Regions from separate parts of the Homo sapiens genome. Here regions 1, 2 and 3 are each linked to region 4. Evidence: promoter capture Hi-C in 16 types of primary human blood cells and fetal thymus (Javierre and others, 2016). All regions are on one chromosome and are shown on one strand. Each heading gives the region's core, a stretch centred on a gene start or on the middle of the fragment in contact. The rest is flanking DNA. Distances are from core to core; before and after follow the strand shown. Region 1 overlaps GLIS1 (GLIS family zinc finger 1). Region 2 holds the start of LOC124900439 (small nucleolar RNA SNORA58). Region 3 has its middle 12 kb from the start of GLIS1. Region 4 holds the start of DMRTB1 (DMRT like family B with proline rich C-terminal 1).

Region 1 (2,700 bases), core at 95-2,594, 270 kb after region 4:
TGACAGAGTGAGACTCTGTCTCAAAAAAAATAAAAATAAAAAATATGCTTCTGAATCTTTACAAAGAATGTTAATAACATAAAAAAGGTTTATTATGTTCAATGTTAAGCTTATTATTTATTTATTTACTTTTTTTTTTTTTTGAGCTGGAGTCTCACTCTGTCACCCAGGCTGGAGTGCAGCAGCTTGATCTCAGCTCACTGCAACCTCTACCTCCCATGTTCTTCAAGCAATTCTCCTGCCTCAGCCTCCCGAGTAGCTGGGATCACAGGTGCGTGCCACTATGCTCATCTAATTTTTGTATGGTAGTGACAGTGTTCGCCATGTTGACTAGGCTGGTCTTGAACTCCTGACCTCAGGTGATCCGCCTGCCTTGGCCTCCCAAAGTGCTGGGATTACAGGGGTGAGCCACCGCGCCTGGCCTTAAATTTAAATGTAAGTAATAAGACTATATTCAGAATGATCTCAATGATATAAAACTATATTAATAGACAAGCATAGAAAGAAGACTGAAAAGAAATCTACCAAAATGTAAATAGTAGTCATTACTGGGGGGTGAGATTCTGGGCAAGTATTATTTCCATCTTTCCATGTTTCTATAGTTTCCAAAGCTTCTACAGTAAGTATATAGTACTCACGTGAGTGGGAAAAAATAAAGAGTATTAAATTAAATTACCTTTAAAGGGTCAGCCACTTCCCAAAGAAGGACTAGGAGTAAAAACTCAGTAATTTGTTAAAATCCAGGAACCTACAAGAATAAATCAATATTCTGCCATTCCCGTTTAAGCTGCTGCTCAGGGCACTGTCAGCATGTTTCCATTTCCAGGGGTGAGCTGGCTCTGGGTTACCCGCTAAGGAACCAGCAGAAGCCACCCACCAGGTCTGGCCACTCAAATGCTACCTCTCATGGAAGACTGCCCTGATCTCTTTTATCAGTGCTGCCTTAAGAACACTCTGAGAATAGGACAGATCCTAGGACTCACATGTGTATCTCCAACAGGAGGCAGGACTGGTAGCCAGCATGACAGCCCCATCTCAACACTTCTATGGCCATCTGCCCACCCTCTCAACTGGATGCTCCCCAAGGTAGAGGCCAAGGATGCTAGAGACTTTAGCATGTGACAAGAGTGTCAGGAAACAGGTGAGGAACAAATGAATACATTAAAGAATGATATTTTAGACTAATGCTGTCCAACAGAACTTTCTGTGACGGAGGAAATGCTCTATATTTGCAGTTTCCAATATGGTAGCTACCAGCTAGCCATGTGTCTACTGAGCACTTGAAATGTAGCTAGTATGACTGGAAAACTAAATTTTTAATTTTATTTAATTGTAATTCATCTAAATAGCCATAGTGTTTTTGTGGAGAAGCAAACATCACAAGGTAGTTTTAAGATTAAACAAGATGATCTTTTATTTTATTTTGAGAGATAGGGTCTTGCTCTGTCACCCAGGCTGGAGTACAGTGGCTTGACTACAGTTCACTGCATCCTTGAACTCCTGGGCTCAAGTGATCCTCCCCCTCAGCCTCCCTAGTAGCTGAGACTACAGGTGCACACCATCAACCTAGCTAATTTTTAAATTTTAAAAGTAAAGACAGAGTATCACTATGTTACCCAGGCTGGTCTTGAACTCCTGGCTTCAAGCAATCCTCCTGGCTTCAAGCAATCCTCCTGTCTCAGCCTCACCACTAGCTGGGACTACAGGTGCATGGCTGTTAAGATGATTCATTTTTAAAAAGATGATTGGTCCAGTACCTAACAATGCTCAATTGATCACTGTAGGATAATGAAAAAAAATGAGGAGGAGAAAGAGGAATAGGAGGCGAGTCTCCAACAGTGCCACCTGCTCAGCCAACATCAAGCAATGGGAATTTAGTTTTCTCTACCCCACCCCAGCAAATAGCTCTTCCGTATTCTGAGTGCATAGCAGCCAGAGCCATGGAGAGAGTGGGAATGGGAAGAGTGGGGAGGGAGAGGTATGAAGCTGGGACAGGAGACACCCTGCAGACTTGCTGAAAGAGGAAAGTTGTTGGCCTGTATTGCCTGAGACAATGAGTAGGTATTCACTCCAAGAAGAAAGCTTAAGCCACCAGAATCGGCAACAGGTACAAGAAAAGGGCTGCCCAAAGCAGTCCTCAAGCCCAGGATTTAACACTCTGTGTCCACCAGTGTCCTGTAGAGGGCTGGTCTGCAAACTCAAGTTCTGACCTGTCCTAGAGTTCCCAATTGTTAGCCACCTAGAGAGCCCTTTTCCACCCTACCTCACTGATTCTCATGCTACCCTGGCCAGGGGAGTGAGCACCAGTTTCCATTCTGTGACTCAGCAGACCAAGGCTGGGTGAGACTGTCTGAGGTCATGAGGCTGAGACTGGCTGGAGAACTGGAGTCTGCCTAGGACAGACAGCAAATGATAAGGTGCTGATGCCGCACAGAGGCCTGGAAACCCGGCCAGCCTGAAGGGGGAACCTGCAAACACCGACCCTCCAGGCTGCGAGCTCCGAGGAGGCAAGGGCTCCATCTGTTGGTTCTCCATGGTGTCCCAGGGCAGAACCCAACACTGGGAGCACAGCGGGCATCCGATAAATATGGATAAACCAACCAACCACCAGCCAAACACAGGTACAGCCATTCCAGTTTTCAGGCTAATTCTACATACTTCATCCCATCTGCCCCTAACAATTGGCCAGACAGGGGTCAT
Region 2 (2,700 bases), core at 106-2,605, 310 kb after region 4:
CTGGCCTATATCGCTTTCTTATCTAAATCCCTATGCTCCCCTTTTCTTCTTGCCTTTTTTCCCCCAGGGGAATGTTACAGTCCTGCTATTTATCCAGCCACTGATTAAGCTGGATAAAGCTGGCAGGAACTTCAAATTAATCTCGAATACAATGTCCCCCCTGCCTGGACATGAGCACAGTCAGGCAAGGTCTACGGGTATGCCCTTCTCCTTGCTTTTGTTCTATCATTAATATATGTCATATCTATTTCATTCTCTAAATTCATCAGTATTTTCTGAATGTGTCCTACATACTAATTTATATCTTGGAGGCAGTCTAGTGTTGTAGATAGAAAGATGAAAGATTTTTAAGAGAAAGAAAGACTTGATTTCAGGTTCATGTTTAATACGCACTAGATTGTGCTATCAGGCAAATTTTAACATCTCTATGCCTCAGTTTTCGTATCTGTACAATTATGATAATTTCTACACTTCACAGGGTCTTTGAAAAGAGTAAATGAAAAAACATTAAGTTCTAAGTGTATTGTCTAGAATAGCACTATCTGATAAAACTTTCTGGAAGTAGGGAAAGATGTTATACTTCTGTTGTCCAATACAGTAGCTACTAAACACATGTAGTTATTAAGTACTTCAAATGTGGCTAGGGTGACTGACAAATTGAATTTTTAACTTTATTTAACTTTAATTTAAATTGGAAGTCTTAAACTATTCATTGATTGCATACAAAAACAGCAGAGCAATCTCTCGTGTCTTCTAAAGTTCATTTATAATTGTGATAAATATAAATACAGTTTAGTTACTAAGCTAGTATCCCTCATCCTGCCTAGCTAGATCATTTCACAAGAGGAAAGCAGTAAACATGAATAAAACTAAATATAAACAGGCTTGGCATTTGTGGTTTTCTCTCTGGTTCTGTTTCTCAAGGTGTTGTGATCTGTTGGTGTTTTTCCAGCATGAATCACAAAGCACCAGGGATTCATTTCTGGAATACTTTGCTCACCCCAAGTCTTCAGTTTGCTGACCAAGATATAACAATAGAATTAGTTTTAATATGCTTTTCTGGAAAGGTACTCGGGTTTTCTGCTCTTTTTTCTCCCTTAAGGATCTTTTGATAATTTAAATATATATATATAATTAATCTGCTGCATTTATAACTTTCTGTCTTCTTTTGTCCATTTGAAAGAAATCCCCAAAGCTTTATGATGGGCCAAATTTTAAAATATAAATATTAAGTCCACATCCAAGCTGTAAGTTTACAGTGAGAATCATCAAGGTCCCAAAAGAACACTTTCAACACATGAGCCTTATCATTCCCATACCTATTTCTAAGGAAAGCTCCCCAGAATAGGTATCATCATGGATCAAAACAGGTAAACTTACTTCAGATGTTCACCAAATGTAGTAGTTATTCGATAGATGGCAGTTTTCAGTGATGCTCTGAATGCAAATCTTAATGTTTTATATGAAGTGTCCACAAGGCTTCCTGAAATCCGGGGTGGTTTACTGGAAGCATGAGGAAGCTTAAAGTACTTGTCGACTGCCTACACCAAGAAAGAAAACACATCAGTTTAGATTATAAAGAAAGCCAACCTAGGCCAGGTGCTGTGGCTCACATGTGTAATCCCAACACTTTGGAAGGACGAGGCGGGAGGACTGCTTGAGCCCAGGAGTTCCACTGTACTCCAGACTGGGCGACAGAGATCCTGTCTCAAAATAACATAACATAACATAACATAACATAACATAACATAACATAACATAACATAACATAACAAAACAAAACAAACATAATATAACATAAAATAAAATAAAATAAAAAATTAAAAAGAAAAAAGTCACTTCAGTCCAAAGAATTAAGATTTGAGATAGATACAAATGGATATATACAGAGAGATATACACATATCTATAGCTATGCTGTAACACATTTCTTACTGTAGATCACAGTCAAAATAGTTTCATAAACAATGCAATAGGGAGGCTCAGCTACTATGACAGTTACCAGGCCCCCCCCAAAATCCAGACTTGCCCTTGGAAATGAAGCTATCATTCAATATCCTTGAAAATGCAAAGCTTGAAGTCAAACACTGATGTCCTACTCTGCTTATGATGTGACAGCCAGGAGGAGCTTTATTAAAAGACCTCAGCAAAAAAAAAAAAAAAGACCAAAACTTTATACTTTACAGAAATAGTTATTCACTAAATAGTTTATCTTCCTTTTCAATTCAGATAAGGCATTTATGATACTGTTACATCATGAGGTCCCCATGGAAAAATAAACTGACAAGATACAACAGTATAAGCGTACTATTTATAGTTATGAATGTAACCACCAAAAGAACTGAAAACAAAAATAATTAAAATTATTTTTGCCATCAAGTTCTTAATTTCAAGAGCTCTTTAACATCATCTGTTCTTTTTAATTTTAGCATCCTATTTTTGTTTCAAAGATGCAATATCCTTTCTTATTTCTAAGGATTCTGATGACAGCTTTTTTGTTTTTTAGTTTCTTCCAAGCTGATTTTCCCCCTTTGCTCCCTTTAGTCTCCAACTTCTGCATGAGAGACTTTCCTCAGAAATCTAGTGATCCTCGTTCACAAATGCAAGTGGGACCTGCTAAAGAGCTGAGCACCAATTCTAAGTGCATGACTGGGGATTACAGACGAGCGGCTTCACAGTGGGTCATCTGCAGGGACTTTTG
Region 3 (2,700 bases), core at 114-2,613, 290 kb after region 4:
GCTGGGACATAGCTTTATTTAGGAGGCAAACTTAATACACCTGGGTGATGGGAGTGAAGGGAAGCAATGTCTGGGCATCTAGGAAAATAGCAGTTTTAGGGTTTGGAACCTCCCCTGGGAGGCCCAAGGCATTCTTAGTCCTCAGTGGTGGTTTCCAGAAGCAAAGTCAACATCACCATTACCAAGTCATTAAGCTATATCTCTTCCTCATGCTCATCGCTGCAATGGCTTTTCTAGAGAAACTTTCATTGGCTCTCAGCTCATCACTGTCTTTATAGAGAAACAGAATCAGACTTACTATAATATGCATGTCAAATGCTGCTAATGAGGACAATAAGATCTGATAGCTTAAACAATTATAACGGACAATATTTGCTATAGATATGTAAGGAAGGGCCTGTTACTTATTATGGAAGCACACAGTCCCAGGCCCTGTGGCAGGTGCTTTTCCATACATTAATGCAGACAATGCTGTGTACATACAGCAATACACAGGACAGTCGTATGAACAGGGTAGTATTGTTTCCTATTACAGATGTGGAAGTGAGATCCCAAGGAGGCTAAGTGACTTGCTCAAGACCTCAGAACCAGCAAGTGGCAGAGTCAGGCTTGACCCTAAATACCACCATCTTTCCACCACACTACCACACCTCATCTCCAGCTGATCTGGACCATTCTCTGTCACCTGTCCCTTCCTCTCCTTTCCCCTAGAATGCCTTCCTGGCTGACCACTCCCATCCCAGCCCACCCAGATCTCCAAGTGGCCCCTTCTCCACTTAAGGCTTCCCCTCCCAACCAAACACCAAAAGCACAAAGCCTTCACCATAACTCCTTCCTGTGAACTGTGGAGTCATTGCCCTTCTCAGAGCACCTATTCTCTGCTGTGTTACTTACCCATTTGTGTATTTACTGTATTCCCACTAATAAACTGCAGACCCCTTGAAGGCAGGGACTTTGTATGTGTATCGAACATGTTCAGCAATTTGTGGATATGAACCCATGTACAAAATTGATTCAACAGATCAACAAGTTGGTAAATGAGGCTGAACCAAATGCATATATGGAGTAAGGAACAGAATAGTTGATTATTTTTATTTAAAATGTTTCTTATAAAATAAACAGAAGACTCATCCAGTACACACTAGTATTATGTAATTCCTATGCTGTTTTCCAGGCACATATTAAAGTCATCTAGACCTGTATCCAGAAAGCATTTTAATAAATAGAGGAATGGAATTGTATTCATGAATAAGTTTGAAATGAATTTTTCAATTAAAAAATCAGTTTTAAGACGTTTAATAGACATCTCGCATAATCCGCTCTTCAAAGACATTTTATTTCTTTTATGAAACCAAACTTACCTTACTGCATCCCAAATTCAAACACTCATGCAATGTTACAGTTAGAAGGGAACTTCAAAATCATTCAGTCCAATTCTTTGATTTTTCAGTCGAAATAGATAAGTGATGTGAAATCTTAGCTGAAGTTCACAGAGCTAGATAGTGCCAGAGATAAGACTAGAACTCATTATTTCCGAAACCCAACTCTCAGAGACAGCTGGAAGCCTACCTTTATATTCATCCTTTCATTTTTCTCCAGTAGCAGAACCCCAATTCTATTAATGGGTTACAATCAACCTCTAAAAGACATTTCCTAGACTCCCTTGCAACCAGATGTGGCCATGGGACCACTTTGGCCAATGAGATGCTAAGCGTTAAGTATGTGCACTTTCAGGAAGTGTTCCTAAAAGGGAGGGAGGATGCTATTTTCCCTCCCCTTCCTTCTTCCTGTTGCCTGGAAGGAAGGCATGAAGGCTGTGGTTCCAGGAGCCATGTGGGACCACAAGAGTCAGGACCACACCTTGGGGCTGGCTACGTGGAGAGCTAGAATGAGCCTGAATCCCTGATAACCTCAGGGAGTCACCATAGCCATTCTGGACAGCCTATTTCTGGATCTTCTTTTATGTGAGAAAAAAAAAATAACTGTGTCACTTAAATCACCATTATTCTGAGTTTTCATTTACATGCAGCCAGACTTAACTAACCCATCTTGCTTCCTCCATCTCACTAAATGGCAGTTCCATTCTACCAGCTGCTCAGGCCAAAAACCTTGGAGTCAATACTAGCGACTTTCTCTTTCACACTCCACAACCATTCCACCAGCAGTGCTTGTCACCTCTTCCTTCAAAATAGATCAAATCTGTCTGCATCTCACCCTGGGCCCAGCCACCATCCTCTCTCATCTGGTTACAGCAGTGGTCTCCTAACCTTCTTTCATTCTTGCCTGCCACCCACGGTCTCCAGTCTCTTTTCCACAGAACAGTCAGACTAAATTATTTCTTAAAGGTAATTCAACACATCTTACTCCTTTGCTCAGAACTTCCCAATGGCTGTCCCTGACTCGAAGCGGGAGCAAGGTCCTTCCTGTAGCCTACCTGGCCTGAGTGAGCTTGTCCTGGCCCCCATCTTGTTCACATTACCACACTCCACCTCATCCACTGCGCCTGGCCACCCTGCCCTCTTTGCTATCCCTTGAACTTATCAGGTATATGCCTGCCTTGGGACCGTTCTGTGTTTTGGAACTCACCCCTCAGGTACCTACATATTCTCTCCCTTACCTCATTCAGGTCTCTGCCCAAACATCATTTTATCGGGGGACCTTCCTGGACCACCCTATCTGAAATGGAAAACCAGCCAGGTG
Region 4 (2,700 bases), core at 69-2,568:
GAGAGAGAGAGAGAGAGAGAGAGAGAGAGATGCCTCAGGGTGTCACAAATTTGTTTTTAAAAAATGAATTAATGGCCGGACGCGGTGGCTCACGCCCGTAATCCCAGCACATTGGGAGGCCGAGGCCGGTGGATCACCTGAGATCGGGAGTTCAAGACCAGCCTGGCCAACATGGCGAAAACCCCGTCTCTACTAAAAATACAAAAATTAGCTGGGCATGGTGGCGGGCGCCTGTAATCCAAGCTACTCAGGAGGCTGAGGCAGGAGAATCGCTTGAACCTGGGAGGCGGAGGTTGCAGTGAGCCAAGATCCTGCCACTGCACTACAGCCTGGGTGACAAAGCAAGACTCTGTCTCAAAAAAAAAAAAAAAAACAAAAAAAAACAATTAATGCCCTCGGGTAAACTATGACGTTTGTGCTAACTTTTCAGATGTCCCAAGATTTGGGTTGTTTTACAAGGATAACGAAGTTCATGATGAGGTTAAGCAATCACTGAAGCTAGTGCTAGAAATTTTTTTTAATTTAATTTTTTAGAAAGAGGGGTCTTGCAGAATTTTTTATTTAATTTTTTAGAAAGAGGAGTCTCGCTATGTTGCTCAGGTTGGTCTCCAACTACTGGGCTCAAGTGATCCTCACGAGTAGCTAGGGCTACAGGCACAGGACACTATGCCAGGCTTAGTGCTACAATATTCTGTCTATTTTACTTTAAAATATTCTAAGTATGCTCACTTTGGAAGGCATCAACATCCAGAAATGCATTCCTACATCAAGACTCTCAAGAAACGGGAATTACTGTAAGGGCATACCCTTGAGCAACCATCACACTGCACTGAACTCTTGAGAATATTCTGGAATATCCTGGAAGCATCTCTGCAGGGCAGAGAAGTGAACTGCCACAGAAGGAGCAGCTTTGGGGAGAAGAAATACAGTTTGCCTCTTACAGTATTTTTCTACACCGAGAGCTACATTCCTCCCGAGTTTTAAATTTGTGGACCGTTGAATATCACTCCGCCTTTCATAAAGTTACAAATACCTTCCGTCGGTGGCGGGAACAGAGTTTGGAAAATTACATGCCTAAGACTTCAGATAAGCTAAATGACATACATGCAATAGCATCCCATGAAGAATTTATTCAACCCAATCCATTGCATCTAATTACCCAAAGCACAGAAACTCTCCAAACTGTGCACCCCCCAAAAGGAGGGAAAATGCAAGGTTCCTGCTGCAGTTCCCGGGACACACTGCGAGCCGCTTTGTTACAAGTGTATCCAATGTCCCCAGAACGAGGGACTTGTGGGGCGCGGCTCATCCCAGCGCCACTTGCTCTGCAGCTCCCAGAGGTGGTGGTTGTGTTACGAAGGCTGACCCTGCCAATGGCCGACAAAATGGTGCGCACCCCCAAGTGCTCGAGATGCAGGAACCATGGCTTCCTGGTGCCCGTCAAGGGACACGCGGGCAAATGCCGCTGGAAGCAGTGCCTCTGCGAGAAGTGCTACCTGATCTCCGAGCGCCAGAAGATCATGGCCGCGCAGAAGGTGCTCAAGACGCAGGCCGCCGAGGAGGAGCAGGAGGCGGCCCTGTGTGCGCAGGGGCCCAAGCAGGCCTCCGGGGCTGCGGCCGCCGCCCCCGCCCCCGTCCCCGTCCCGGCCGCGAGCCTCCGCCCGCTGTCCCCGGGGACTCCCTCCGGAGACGCCGACCCGGGACCCGAGGGCCGCGCGGCCGCTTGCTTCTTCGAGCAGCCCCCGCGGGGCCGGAACCCCGGCCCGAGAGCCCTCCAGCCGGTTCTGGGCGGCCGCAGCCACGTGGAGCCGAGCGAGCGAGCCGCCGTGGCGATGCCCAGCCTTGCGGGACCCCCTTTTGGGGCGGAGGCCGCAGGCAGTGGCTACCCTGGCCCCCTAGACCTGCGCAGGCCGATGCGGACCGTGCCCGGCCCACTGTTCACCGACTTTGGTAAGTCGTGGCCTTGGTCCCGCGGTCGACTCCCGGAGCTGGCAGCCCAGGCCAGCCCGGATGGGGAGCTGGCATAGGGGTTCGGGGTGGAGAGAAGTTTTTCCACGGGTAACGGACCTTCCGCTTTGAGAAACCCTTCTTCGAACAGGGATTTGGATTGGGTAACTTTTCGCAAAAAGGAAACGAGAAACAGAAAGGAATGGGCGGTTCAGAGGGCTTTTAACATTTAGCTGTAGTTTGTGCCATTCCGGCATGCAAGAACAAAATGGCGTCCAGTCGACTTAGCAGTGCTTCCTCCTCCGGGGGAGGCTTCGAGGAGCCGAGTCCTACTGCTCTTGCGCACCTCTTCCCGCCATTTCCTTGGGCTGGAGGCTCCTCCTCCAGAATAACAGAATTTTCCTGCCGGCACGTTAGCGCAAGGACGCCTGCGCACTCTTCCCTCCCGGTTCGCGGTCGGGAGGCTCCTCCCCTCAGCTCCGCCCTGGCCCAGTGCGCCTGCGCACCTCTTCCCTCCGTTTCCCCACGTGCAGGTGAGGGGAGCCTGCTTCTTTACTCCACACACGAGAACAGTTGGTCAGTAAAGATGTTGCCTTTCTTTTCTCCCTTCACCTTGTACATAAATTACATTGTTCCCTGTGCCTTGGAGCTTTTGGTATTGAAGTAGTTTCAAGTCACATGTACATTTGAAGCTTTAGAAGCCCCGGGGTTTGGTGCGGACGCGTTTTCCTGGTGTCTCCCCCGTGGTGGTGT

Evidence for each region. The method cuts DNA at HindIII sites, captures the fragments that hold promoters and counts their contacts. A CHiCAGO score of 5 or more calls a contact.
Region 1: a fragment that was not itself captured here is called in contact with the fragment with the promoter of DMRTB1 in region 4 in 2 of 17 cell types (M1 macrophages and fetal thymus); the score reaches 5.9 in M1 macrophages.
Region 2: a fragment that was not itself captured here is called in contact with the fragment with the promoter of DMRTB1 in region 4 in 1 of 17 cell types (M2 macrophages); the score reaches 5.6 in M2 macrophages.
Region 3: a fragment that was not itself captured here is called in contact with the fragment with the promoter of DMRTB1 in region 4 in 1 of 17 cell types (M2 macrophages); the score reaches 5.3 in M2 macrophages.

What each region holds. Positions count from the first base shown.
Region 1 is chr1:53,723,111-53,725,810 of GRCh38, forward strand. The region is part of intron 2 of GLIS1 (GLIS family zinc finger 1); the gene reads right to left. Among named protein-coding and RNA genes, the nearest start is that of GLIS1, 15 kb to the right of the region's middle. The HindIII fragment of the contact is 1,471 bases long and covers 610-2,080 here.
Region 2 is chr1:53,770,949-53,773,648 of GRCh38, forward strand. NDC1 (NDC1 transmembrane nucleoporin) reads right to left here. Exons shown (of 18, transcript NM_018087.5): 17 at 1,381-1,541. It overlaps LOC124900439 (small nucleolar RNA SNORA58), which reads right to left and starts at 205; the gene lies at 70-205. RefSeq lists an enhancer at 1-152. The HindIII fragment of the contact is 325 bases long and covers 1,194-1,518 here.
Region 3 is chr1:53,750,015-53,752,714 of GRCh38, forward strand. No RefSeq gene overlaps it. Among named protein-coding and RNA genes, the nearest start is that of GLIS1, 12 kb to the left of the region's middle. The HindIII fragment of the contact is 3,900 bases long and covers 1-2,700 here.
Region 4 is chr1:53,458,081-53,460,780 of GRCh38, forward strand. It overlaps DMRTB1 (DMRT like family B with proline rich C-terminal 1), which reads left to right and starts at 1,319. Exons shown (of 4, transcript NM_033067.3): 1 at 1,319-1,950. The coding sequence starts at 1,374. The HindIII fragment of the contact is 2,763 bases long and covers 1-2,637 here.